Regions from separate parts of the Homo sapiens genome. Here region 1 is linked to region 2. The links are contacts of gene promoters, found by promoter capture Hi-C in blood cells and fetal thymus (Javierre and others, 2016). All regions are on one chromosome and are shown on one strand. Each heading gives the region's core, a stretch centred on a gene start or on the middle of the fragment in contact. The rest is flanking DNA. Distances are from core to core; before and after follow the strand shown. Region 1 overlaps CALU (calumenin). Region 2 holds the start of GARIN1A (golgi associated RAB2 interactor 1A).

The links. The method cuts DNA at HindIII sites, captures the fragments that hold promoters and counts their contacts. A CHiCAGO score of 5 or more calls a contact.
Region 1: a contact is called between a fragment that was not itself captured here and the fragment with the promoter of GARIN1A in region 2, in 1 of 17 cell types (M1 macrophages). The highest score is 5.1, in M1 macrophages.

Annotation. Positions count from the first base shown.
Region 1 is chr7:128,764,996-128,771,129 of GRCh38, forward strand. It overlaps CALU (calumenin), which reads left to right. Exons shown (of 7, transcript NM_001219.5): 6 at 2,461-2,660; 7 at 4,068-6,134. The coding sequence ends at 4,172. Among named protein-coding and RNA genes, the nearest start is that of OPN1SW, 7.7 kb to the right of the region's middle. The HindIII fragment of the contact is 705 bases long and covers 4,075-4,779 here.
Region 2 is chr7:128,669,840-128,676,445 of GRCh38, forward strand. GARIN1A (golgi associated RAB2 interactor 1A) reads left to right here and starts at 2,453. Exons shown (of 5, transcript NM_001128926.4): 1 at 2,453-2,711; 2 at 5,836-6,020. The coding sequence starts at 2,559. RefSeq lists a silencer at 3,315-3,374. The HindIII fragment of the contact is 20,881 bases long and covers 1,967-6,606 here.

The DNA.
Region 1 (6,134 bases), core at 3,177-5,676, 97 kb after region 2:
CCTCGATCTCCAAGGTGGGGAGATCAAGTGATCCTCTCACCTCAGCTGGGACCACAGAAGAGCACCACCACACCCAGCTGATTTTTTTTATTATTATTCTTATAGACATGGGTCTCCCTACATTGCCCAGGCTGGTCTGGAAATCCTGGGCTCAAGAGCTCTACCTGCCTTGGCCTCCCAAAGTGCTGGGATTACAGACATCAGCCACCCGACCTCCTGTTTCTTTTTTTTCTTTTTCTTTTTGAGACAGGGTCTCACTCTGTCACCTAGGCTGGAGTGCAGTGGCATGATCATGGTTCATTGCAGCCTCGATCTGCTAGGCTCAAGCCATCCTCCTGCCTCAGCCTCCCGAGTAGCTGGGACTGTAGGTGCATGCTGCCATGCCTGGCTAATTTTTGTATTTCTTGTAGGGATTTTGCCATGTTGTCCAGGCTGATCTCAAACTCACAAGTCAGCCTTCTATTTGTTAGATTCATTTGCAGTTTACTTCCTCAACAGAATTATATTCTGACATATTTTATCTTGAAGCCTTAGTCACTTTGACATTCTTATTTGCAAGAACATTGTGTATGTAAATTGAAATATGGAAAATGGTGTTCTGTGATATGGCTCTTAAGTGTTTTTAGAGTCTTCTGTGTTAAGTTACTATTACAATTATTAATACACAATTGAACAAAATAACATTTATTACAGACGTTTTATGTTTATATATTTTTAAATGCATTTCTTTGACACATTTTTATTCAAATAGTTTCATATCCATGGATGACAATTACTTATCCCTAGAGTGAAATGGGATTCAGCACCAATTCCTAATTTTTATTTTTTAGAGGAAGTACTAACAGACCTTGTTTACATTAGTAAATAAGTTGATGGAAGATTTGTCATAGCAATATTGCTTAGTTCTTGGAACTCCTTTTGAGTTACATGCCAGAAATCATGTAATCTATCATCAAAAATTATGGGTTTTGTTTGTTTCAAGGTGGAGTCTCTCTCTCTCACCCAGGCTGTAGTACACAGGCACGGTCTCGGCTCATTGCAACCTCTGCCTCTGGGGTTCAAGCGATTCTCCTGCCTCAGCCTCCCCAGTAGCTGGAGATTACAGGTGTGGGCCAGCACGCCCGGCTAATTTTATTTTTTATTTTTAGTAGAGACGGGGTTTCACCATGTTGGCCATGCTGGTCTCAAACTCCTGACCTCAAGTGATCCACCCGCCTCAGCCTCCCAAAGTGCTGGGATTACAGGCATGAGCCACTGCACCCAGCCCAAAAATTATGTTTAATGATCCCTTAGCTAAAACTCAATTAGGCCATTTTTCAAGGTTTTTTTTTTTAAAGCAAAGAATTTAAAACCTTTTGACATGCAAACGAATTTATTCATTTTTTTTCAGGCATTTGCATTCTCAAGACTGACACTAGTATTTCTTTTTCTTTTTTTTTTTTTTTTTTTTTGAGACGGAGTCTTGCTCTGTCGCCCAGGCTAGAGTGCAGTGATATGATCTCGGCTCACTGCAACCTCTGCCTCCTGGGTTCAAGTGATTCTTTTGCCTCAGCCTCTCGAGTAGCTGGGATTACAGGCACGCACCACCATGCTCAGCTAATTTTTGTATTTTTAGTAGAGATGGGGTTTTGCCATTTTGGCCAGGCTGGTCTCAAATTCCTGACCTCAGGTGATCTGGTCTCAAACTCCGACCTCAGGTGATCTGCCTGCCTAGGCCTCCCAAAGTGCTGGAATTACAGGTGTGAGCCACCACGCCCATCCAGACACTAGTATTTCTAATTGTTTCTTTTTCATTATCTTGGAGCTTTTTACACTCTAGTTTCAAAATGGTTGAAAATATGCCTTTCTTTTATAAAGTGGGACAAGGGCAGTTGTGAAAGGGGGGAGATGGGAAAAAAGCCTTGATGGCCAGAGGTACATTCTTATGAAGATCAATTTTTGGAAAAATCTATATGTGGAACTGAGTATCTGGAATTTGATTCTCTCTTGACTGACCTTTCTCAGTGTACTCCTTGACAGTGTTCCTGTTTCCCCAGGGGCGTGCTTGTCCCAACTGAAGGCCACTGGTATAATGGACTCTTTGTAGTAATTGGCTACACCTTTCTAAAACAAGTGGTCCCGTTTAATTAGCTACCTTAGGGTGAAATGAAATGTAGGGAACGAGTCTAAGTCTTTCTTGATGGTAGCTCTCTCCTCTTATTTCTGCATTTATTAAGGTATAAGAACTCTTTGCTCTCATGTGACTTAAAATCAGCAGCTGGAAATATTCTTGTTGCAAGATAAGTGATTAAGCCTCAGGAAAATACCTTGCTTTCTAAGGTCTGTCTGGCCTAAAATACCCTTGTAGCTGCTGTTGGGTTCCAAACAAATGGATGAGGAAAAAGGGTTAGGCCAGATTAGCATGAGGCAGTTTTGGGGAAAAGACAAACCCTTCTTTTGTATGTATGTCTGTGTACCCAGGTGACATGTACAGCCATGATGGGAATACTGATGAGCCAGAATGGGTAAAGACAGAGCGAGAGCAGTTTGTTGAGTTTCGGGATAAGAACCGTGATGGGAAGATGGACAAGGAAGAGACCAAAGACTGGATCCTTCCCTCAGACTATGATCATGCAGAGGCAGAAGCCAGGCACCTGGTCTATGAATCAGACCAAAACAAGGTAAGTCTGGCGAGGCCCACACGCTCTATCCTTGATTGAAGTATGCTTCTAGGGGATCACCTGAACAGTTTCTGTTAAGGTGCATAGAGCATTTAAGGTCTTAATTAGTCTAAGTCAGCCAAGTATCTGAATCTGGCGATTAAAACCTTTCAGGGCAGCACTAGCTATCTGATCTCATTTTAGAAATCCTTTTGCCCAGTGCTGATAGCATTGTAGGAAATTTGGCTTCAGAAAAGAGCCTTTGTGTGTAGCCTGTGCCCAGCATGCATCATCAGGTATTTTTAGATCCCCAGGAATTTTTTTTTTTCTTTGTTACTTCATTTGTTCCTTTACCTATTACAGGCCCATTCTGTCTACTCAAAGCTGGTTGTTTCCTTCTTAAATCAAATAGGCTTTTTTAAATTGGGTCCTTTGTATGGGCTATAAATCAGCTTTTCTCTGGAGCCTGTTCAAATTGTCCTTGATCAATTAATTATCTGAGGTATTTTGTTAAAAGTATTGTTGTCCCTAAGCCCAGTCACCTGCTTCAGAGATTACTCCTGCCCTGCTTGGAGTAAGCTGAAAATCGGTCTAAAGATGGAGATTTTCAGTGTTCTGAGTATATTTTTGTCTAAGCTAATCTTCAATTTCAAATTCAGTTTTTTATTTTAGAGCCTTTTTAAGTGTTGATCTGCTTTAAGTTCTTGCTCAAAGTCACTTTAGTAGCCAGGTGTTGTGTCCTGAGATGTATGAGAAAAGGAAATGCATGTAGTCATCCCTATCTAGGAGATGTTCCATATTTTCCTCTAAAAGGAGAGTTTTCTCCTCATGAAACAAACCTTTATCTCTAGCATTGAGTTGTTGTGTTATATTCTTTCCACCCTTCCACTTTTAACTTTCTTGATAAAAGAAATGTTTAATTGGCCTGGCACGATGGCTCACGCCTGTAATCCCAGCACTTTGGGAGGCCAAGGCAGGCGGATCACCTGAGATTGGGTGTTCAAGACCAGCCTGACAAACATGGAGAAACCCCATCTCTACTAAAAATACAAAATTACCTGGGCGTGGTGGCGCATGCCTGTAATCCCAGCTACTCGGGAGGCTGAGGCAGAAAAATCACTTAAATCACTTTAACACGGGAGGCGGAGGTTGCGGTGAGCTGAGATCGCGCCATTGCACTCCAGCCTGGGCAACAAGAGCGAAACTCCGTCTCAAAAAAAAAAAAAAAAAAAAACAAGGAATGTGTAATTGCTGTTTTCTTCCCTCTTCGTATGTATGTAGGGGGAATGAGGGCTGAGTAGTTCACACTTAATTTAGTAGAAATGAGAATCTTAACTTCTGATTAACCCCAATTCTTCTATAACAGTGTTTCTGAATTTTTAATGGGAAATATGTTCTTCTTCAATTCATTGCTATCTCTACTTTCAGGATGGCAAGCTTACCAAGGAGGAGATCGTTGACAAGTATGACTTATTTGTTGGCAGCCAGGCCACAGATTTTGGGGAGGCCTTAGTACGGCATGATGAGTTCTGAGCTACGGAGGAACCCTCATTTCCTCAAAAGTAATTTATTTTTACAGCTTCTGGTTTCACATGAAATTGTTTGCGCTACTGAGACTGTTACTACAAACTTTTTAAGACATGAAAAGGCGTAATGAAAACCATCCCGTCCCCATTCCTCCTCCTCTCTGAGGGACTGGAGGGAAGCCGTGCTTCTGAGGAACAACTCTAATTAGTACACTTGTGTTTGTAGATTTACACTTTGTATTATGTATTAACATGGCGTGTTTATTTTTGTATTTTTCTCTGGTTGGGAGTATGATATGAAGGATCAAGATCCTCAACTCACACATGTAGACAAACATTAGCTCTTTACTCTTTCTCAACCCCTTTTATGATTTTAATAATTCTCACTTAACTAATTTTGTAAGCCTGAGATCAATAAGAAATGTTCAGGAGAGAGGAAAGAAAAAAAATATATGCTCCACAATTTATATTTAGAGAGAGAACACTTAGTCTTGCCTGTCAAAAAGTCCAACATTTCATAGGTAGTAGGGGCCACATATTACATTCAGTTGCTATAGGTCCAGCAACTGAACCTGCCATTACCTGGGCAAGGAAAGATCCCTTTGCTCTAGGAAAGCTTGGCCCAAATTGATTTTCTTCTTTTTCCCCCTGTAGGACTGACTGTTGGCTAATTTTGTCAAGCACAGCTGTGGTGGGAAGAGTTAGGGCCAGTGTCTTGAAAATCAATCAAGTAGTGAATGTGATCTCTTTGCAGAGCTATAGATAGAAACAGCTGGAAAACTAAAGGAAAAATACAAGTGTTTTCGGGGCATACATTTTTTTTCTGGGTGTGCATCTGTTGAAATGCTCAAGACTTAATTATTTGCCTTTTGAAATCACTGTAAATGCCCCCATCCGGTTCCTCTTCTTCCCAGGTGTGCCAAGGAATTAATCTTGGTTTCACTACAATTAAAATTCACTCCTTTCCAATCATGTCATTGAAAGTGCCTTTAACGAAAGAAATGGTCACTGAATGGGAATTCTCTTAAGAAACCCTGAGATTAAAAAAAGACTATTTGGATAACTTATAGGAAAGCCTAGAACCTCCCAGTAGAGTGGGGATTTTTTTCTTCTTCCCTTTCTCTTTTGGACAATAGTTAAATTAGCAGTATTAGTTATGAGTTTGGTTGCAGTGTTCTTATCTTGTGGGCTGATTTCCAAAAACCACATGCTGCTGAATTTACCAGGGATCCTCATACCTCACAATGCAAACCACTTACTACCAGGCCTTTTTCTGTGTCCACTGGAGAGCTTGAGCTCACACTCAAAGATCAGAGGACCTACAGAGAGGGCTCTTTGGTTTGAGGACCATGGCTTACCTTTCCTGCCTTTGACCCATCACACCCCATTTCCTCCTCTTTCCCTCTCCCCGCTGCCAAAAAAAAAAAAAAAGGAAACGTTTATCATGAATCAACAGGGTTTCAGTCCTTATCAAAGAGAGATGTGGAAAGAGCTAAAGAAACCACCCTTTGTTCCCAACTCCACTTTACCCATATTTTATGCAACACAAACACTGTCCTTTTGGGTCCCTTTCTTACAGATGGACCTCTTGAGAAGAATTATCGTATTCCACGTTTTTAGCCCTCAGGTTACCAAGATAAATATATGTATATATAACCTTTATTATTGCTATATCTTTGTGGATAATACATTCAGGTGGTGCTGGGTGATTTATTATAATCTGAACCTAGGTATATCCTTTGGTCTTCCACAGTCATGTTGAGGTGGGCTCCCTGGTATGGTAAAAAGCCAGGTATAATGTAACTTCACCCCAGCCTTTGTACTAAGCTCTTGATAGTGGATATACTCTTTTAAGTTTAGCCCCAATATAGGGTAATGGAAATTTCCTGCCCTCTGGGTTCCCCATTTTTACTATTAAGAAGACCAGTGATAATTTAATAATGCCACCAACTCTGGCTTAGTTAAGTGA
Region 2 (6,606 bases), core at 1,203-3,702:
CAGCCAGAAGTGCCAATTTTCATACATCCAACTGGGAAGTGATCTGATGTTGGATTCTTTTTTCTTTCTTTTTTTTTTTTAGGTGGAGTTTTGTTCTTGTTGTCCATGCTGGAGTGCAATAATGGTGTGATCTCAGCTCACTGCAACTTCCACCTCCCAGGTTCAAGTGATTCTCCTACCTCAGCCTCCCGAGTAGCTGGGATTACAGATGCCTGCCACCACGCCCGGCTAATTTTTTATATTTTTAGTAGAGATGGGGTTTCACCATGTTGGTCAGGCTGGTCTCCAACTCCTGACCTCAGGTGATCCACCCGCCTCGGCCTTCCAAAGTGCTGGGATTACAGGTGTGAACCACTGCACCTAGCCCTTTTTCTCTTTTTAAATATACAATTTTAGGATCCCTTTTTTTTTTTTTTTTGAGATGGGAGTCTCATTCTGTCACCCAAGCTGGAGCGCAGTGGCACAATCTCTGCTCACTGCAACCTCTGCCTTCTGGACTCAAGTGATCCTCCCACCTCAGCCTCCCAAATAGCTGGGACCACAGGGCGTGCCACCACACCCGGGTAATTTTTGTATTTTTTGTAGAGACGAGGTTTTACCATGTTGCCCAGGCTGATCTTGAACTCCTAAGTTCAAACAATCCACCCACCTTGGCCTCCTGAAGTGCTGGGATTACAGGCGTGAGCCACTGCACCTGGCCTTATAATACTCTTTATTGTAAATTTCATATGACCAGTTGATTCTTACCAAAAGCTTTTGTTGATTTTTGTCAAACGCTGATATTTCTAGCCAACCTATGATTGCAACTGACAAGCAAGTATAGTTCTGACATGAATATTGGTTGATATTTTGATTTACATTAATGAGCAAGGCAAAAGTGAAATAACAAAGTTGTGTATTGGAACTTTACTCATTTGTCAATGACGTGGGCAACTTCTTCGCTAAATTAGGTAAGTCTTCAAATACTGGAAGGCTATTTTCTCAGATTTTTCTATGCCCAAAATATAATAGCTACAGACACATCTTTAAGTTTAATCTGCATAATTAACATTTTCTCTATCACTTTAGTTTAGACAATCAACAGAACAATAAATCAAACCCTGATTTGTAGCACTTGCTGATTTCAAGCTAGCTAACAAGATGAAGTTCCTGAACACACCCTGGGAAGAGATATGCAGCAGCCCACCACTGTATACTGTTTCTTTTCTTTTCTTTTTTTTGAGACAGAGTCTTGCTTTGTCGCTTAGGCTGGAGTGCAGTGGCACCATCTTGGCTCATCACAACCTCCACCTCCCAGATTCAAGCGATCGCCCTGCCCCAGCCTCCCAAGTAGCTGGACTACAGGTACCCACACCACACCCGGCTAATTTTTGTAGTTTTAGTTGAGACGGGGTTTCACCCGTTGACCAGGCTAGTCTCGAACACCTGACCTCAGGCGATCCACCCACCTCGGCCTCCCAAAGTGCTGGGATTACAGTCATGAGCCACCAAGCCCAGCCAAGTTTATATCATTTAAGTTTTAAAGGCTGGGCTTGGTGGCTCATGACTGTAATCCCAGCACTTTGGGAGGCCGAGGTGGGTGGATCGCCTGAGGTCAGGTGTTCCAGACCAGCCTGACCAACATGGAGAAACCCTGTCTCTACTAAAAATACAAAATTATCCGGGTGTGGTGGTGCATGCCTGTAATCCCAGCTACTCGGGAGGCTGAGGCAGGAGAATTGCTTGAAGATGGGAGGCGGAGGTTGTGGTGAGCCGAGATCACGCCACTGCACTCTAGCCTGGGCAACAAGAGCAAAACTCTGTCTCAAAAAAAAAAAAAAAAAAGTTTTAATAATTGCTGTGTTTAACAACTGGTTTGTAGCATTCCTGAAAATGTAACAACCAGCTCTCGTGACCTGTTTTGGTCTGGCTCCAGCATACAACTGTGCCACTGCCTTCTCCTTTGCCCACTGTTTCCAAATAAATAAGCTTCTCAGTTTAGTTAACAGGTGTCCATTTCTTTAAAAAAAAAAAAAAATCTCCTTTTCTCCCATGAGATGGGGTAGGGAAGATGAACTCCCTTTTTCCTATCCTTAGACTTCCCTGGGCAGGTGAACAAGTCCCATGGAAGTTTGGTGAGGGGCTTCAAGGGGAGCCAAGAGGATTAAAGCCTGTATGTTCCCGAGAGCCTTCCTTGCATCTGGCCAGCTCACTGCTGCCTTGGCATAACTTTGGGAGGGTCATTTTTTCCATGTGGGGTAAGGCTGAATGTTTACAAAGTGGAATAGGCTGCATTACTGCTGGTTTGTAGTTGGTGGAAAGAGGGAGAAAAGAGCCTGGCACATCCTCTGTCCTTCCTCTTCTTTTTTTTTTCCCTTTTCTGTTGTCACCATCACATTCCTTGATGTCATTCCTGCCATTGTGAGCTGACAGGCCCTCCCAGCCCTGGTGGACAGCCCGTAAGTAAATGGGGAGGAAATGCTGGGGAGGTGGGGGCAGATCACATCAACATCCTGGCATTGGGCTGGGTCGGCGTGGAGCCCCAGAAATGTTCCCAAGCCCATTCTTACCAAGAACCAATGAGTAAAATCAGGGGCCTCCCACCTGAGGTCAGGGAACCAGGCCCTGGAGTGGAACTTGGGGTGGAAAATGGCCTTCTTTGTCAACTGATTCATTCTCCAGAATTCAATTTGTTCTCCAACTCGGTGGTGTTTGAAAGCAACTTTATCCAGGTACCCTCGTGGAGCTCAGGGCCAGCTGTCTTTCTGTTTCCAAAACCTGTTCCTAGGGGTTGGTTAGGAGATGCTGTGGCCTTTTAAAGCCCTGGGGGAGGGGGGGGCGGGGGGACAAAGAAGCCACCAAAGCTAGAGAAAACCAGAAGGTCTGGGTCCCAAGTTCACCTCCATTTGTGCCTACCGTATGATAGAGCTACCTGCAGGTCATCTGTTCTAGGGAAATTGATTTATGCTTTACAAATGAGAGATCAGAGCTCAGTCTCCAGGCAGGGTTCACAGGCCCTTTCTGGGCCACTTGTCCAAAGTGGATGGTTACAGGGAATGAAGGTTGCTGTTAGAAACTCTGCTCTGAAATCCATCCTCCTCAGTCTGGGATGGTTTAGAAACAGCCTTGTTTGAAAGCAAAGACACTGGGTAAATAGGTGTTGCCCAGATCCTACCATTCCCTAAAAGGATGGTGGTGACATGACCAATGGAAGTGAGCCTGGGATGGGGCCACTGGGAGTGGAAGGTGGTCGTTTTCGTAAGTATCAAGTCTTAACGCGGGTGCTGCCTGCCTCCCTCTAGCGGTCTAGCCTGAACCCATGCTCCTGCGCAGGAGAGCATAACCAGTTAATCAGCCAGTAAGCACACACTAAACATCTACTGAGTGCAGGGCAGGAGGTGCAGAGAAAAATCAGAGTGTCCCTGGCCAGGAAGCCTATGAGTTTGGTTTACCTGTTATTTGGTAACTGTCTAAGCAAGCTCTATGTCAGAGAGCTTGGGCCAGCTGATGCACCAGGCATGACTGCAGAGAGCAGGTGCTGGGGGCATTCATTCAAGGCATTCTCTCTGGACTTTGGCAGTTGAAGAAGGCTTTCCAGAAGGGTCTTAAGCCATTCTTTGAGAGACTGCTGAGATTTTGGTAAGTGGAAGAGCAGCGGGGAGGATATCCCAGACAGAGGGGCTTCAAAGTACCTAAGGAAAGGCAGGGAGGCTGGAATGCAAGGTCTGCAAGACACAGACCCATTCAAATGGAATGGGAAAGTAGCCAGGGGTTATAGGAGAGAAGGTGGGAACAGTTTGAGGTGGGTCTTGGGCTTAATTTGGAGACTCTTCACAGAGCAGCGAGCTGCTCCCTAATGGAGTCCCCGGATTTTGGAGAGCTGTGTTTATGGCTCCTGCCGCTCCACGGTCCCTTTACTGTGCCCCAGGAGATGTGTAGTTGGGTGATCAGCTGGCAAACCTGAGGCGAGCTCATTCCTAACATACCCTTGGTGGAGACAGAGCAATAACATGGGAAGTCCAGTCTCAGGATCCAATTTCTAGTCATTTCTATTTGGGTGTAATGATTCAGCTGCAAATTTCTTCTCTTAATGTGTGCTTTTTTTTTGAGATGGAGTCTCACTCCGTTGCCCTGGCATGGTCTAGGCTCACTGCAACCTCTGCCTCCTGGGTTCAAGCAATTCTCCTATCTCAGCCTCCCGAGTAGCTAGGACCACAGGCGTGCACCACCTCGCCCAGCTAATTTTTTTGTGTTTTAGTAGAGATGGGGTTTCACCATGTTGGCCAAGATGGTCTTGATCTCTTGACCTCATGATCTGCCCGCCTTGGCCTCCCAAAGTGCTGTTTTCTTTGGCCTAATATTAAAACTGTTTAGATTCTCTGAATGGACACTAAGTGACCTGGGTAGCAGCAAACTTAGAATGTGCTAGGGAGAGGCTGACCCGCACAGAAAAGTTCAAAGTTTGATTTTTTAAAAAAAAATTTTTGATAGAGACAGGGTCTCACTATGTTGCCCAGGCTGGTCTTGAACTCCTGGCTTCAAGTGATACTCCGGCTTTGGACTCCCAAAGTGCTGGGATTATAGGCATGAATGACCGCACACAGTCCAAAGTTTACTTGAAGTGATGCAACCCACATATTAGTTATAGTTATAGTTGTTATAGTACAGTTACACTGCTTCCTCTCTCCCCCTTCCTGCACATCACCATCACTATCATCATCTCAAAGCAGCATTACCCACAAACATTTATTGAGCACTTACTCTCAATGTGTACAACCCTTTGTGTTTTGCAGAGGATATGAATTTCATTCCTCAACAAGGGCTCCAAGAAGTGTCACTTTTTTTTTTCAAAATCAAAATTCACTTTTCTGGGAACACCATCTGGTCAGGCTGGTGGGAAATTACATTTCAGTCATCCCTGGGGCTTTCCCTCATCCCCAGTTCCACCAAGGACTGGGCAATGGTGTCGATAGTTTTACAAAGTCTAGAACATTGGCTGGGCATAGTGGCTCATGCCTGTGATCCCAGCACTTTGGGAGGCTGAGAAGGGAAGATCACTTGAGCCCAGGAGTTTGACACCAGTCTGGGCAACATAGTGAGACCCCATCTCTATTTTCTAAAAAAAGTGTAGAGCATTGGGAGAAGGCCCTCTGGCCTTGGGAACATAGGCGTCCCTCCTCATATGTTCCTTATCCAGGTCCCTGTGGCTCCTAAGTGGCCACAGCTCTGGTGCTTTTCTGCCAGCCGTGCACAGTGAGGTGGGGGGTGTCTTAGCTGAGACACAGTGCCCAGTGGTGGGCATCCAGTCTTTCTGTCCTGTGATGGCCGCCTTCTGCTTCAAGAGAATAGGTCCTCATTCCACTCAAGACCCAGCAACAAGATAGCCCCTCCATCATCCTGGGAGAAGTGCTCCAAACCTCCCTCAACTCAAGCTGTCTGGGTCTTCCCCATTCAACAGCTTTTTCCTCACTTTCCTCTCCTTCTGGGACTTTCTTCACACAATCTCCCTTTTGGGCCACTAGAAACCAGTGCTGGCTTCTCCTGCCCAAAGATGGGGGAATGAAAACTTCAGTGCCACTCAGCTTTTTCTTGCTAGTGCATCTTTTTAGTTAGATAAAACAGTTATCTTTTTAGTTAGATAAAACAGAGGACCCAGAGAAGAATGACACAGGGTTCCTGCAGCCAATGACCTTAAAGTGTATTTGGGGAGGCCAATGAAAAGGATCAATAGCAGGTCAGGGCCCAGCCCAGTGTGTGCACACCTGCCCCCAAGATGATGTGCCACTTTCCAGCATCTGTATTCCACCCCTTGTTTTCTGCTCCTTTCTGACCCATGTACCTGAGGCTGATTTCCAGGTCACTAAGCCCGGGAACTGGAGAGATGTCTGTGAAGGGTCTGCCACCGTGATCCTCGGGGTCACCTCCTCGGTGCCCTCCCTGCCACTCCCCAATGTCCTCCTGATGGCCAATGTTACCTGGCCCCAGGGTCCATTTACCACCTGGAGCACACCTGGTGACGCCCCAGTCATCAACCTCAGCAGGTAAAGGCTTGAGGGAGGGCGGGAAGGGATGGAATGATTGACTGGGATATGCATTGCTTTGTAGCTGGATTTTAGATCAAAAGAAAAGATAGCGTTCTTTAGTGCATAAACCCTGTAGAACTCATTCATTCATTTGTTTAGCAACGATTTATTTAGTATCTTTTTTTTTTTTTTTTTTGAGACAGAGTCTCGCTCTGTTGCCCAGGCTGGAGTGCAGTGGCGGGATCTCGGCTCACTGCAAGCCCCGCCTCCCGGGTTCACGCCATTCACCGAGTAGCTGGGACTACAGGCGCCTGCCACCATGCCCAGCTAATTTTTTTTTTTGGATTTTTAGTAGAGATGGGGTTTCACTGTGTTAGCCAGGATGGTCTCGATCTCCTGATCTCGTGATCCACCTGCCTCGGCCTCCCAAAGTGCTGGGATTACAGGCGTGAGCCACCGCGCCTGACCTTATTTATTTAGTATCTATATTTACCAAGCACTGTGCTTCGTGCTGGGATAGGGCAGTACCCAGTCCTTGTCTCGAGCCTGGTTTTTGAGAATCTTGGCTTCCTTTTCTGTAAATGTGTGTGTGTGTGTAAGTGTG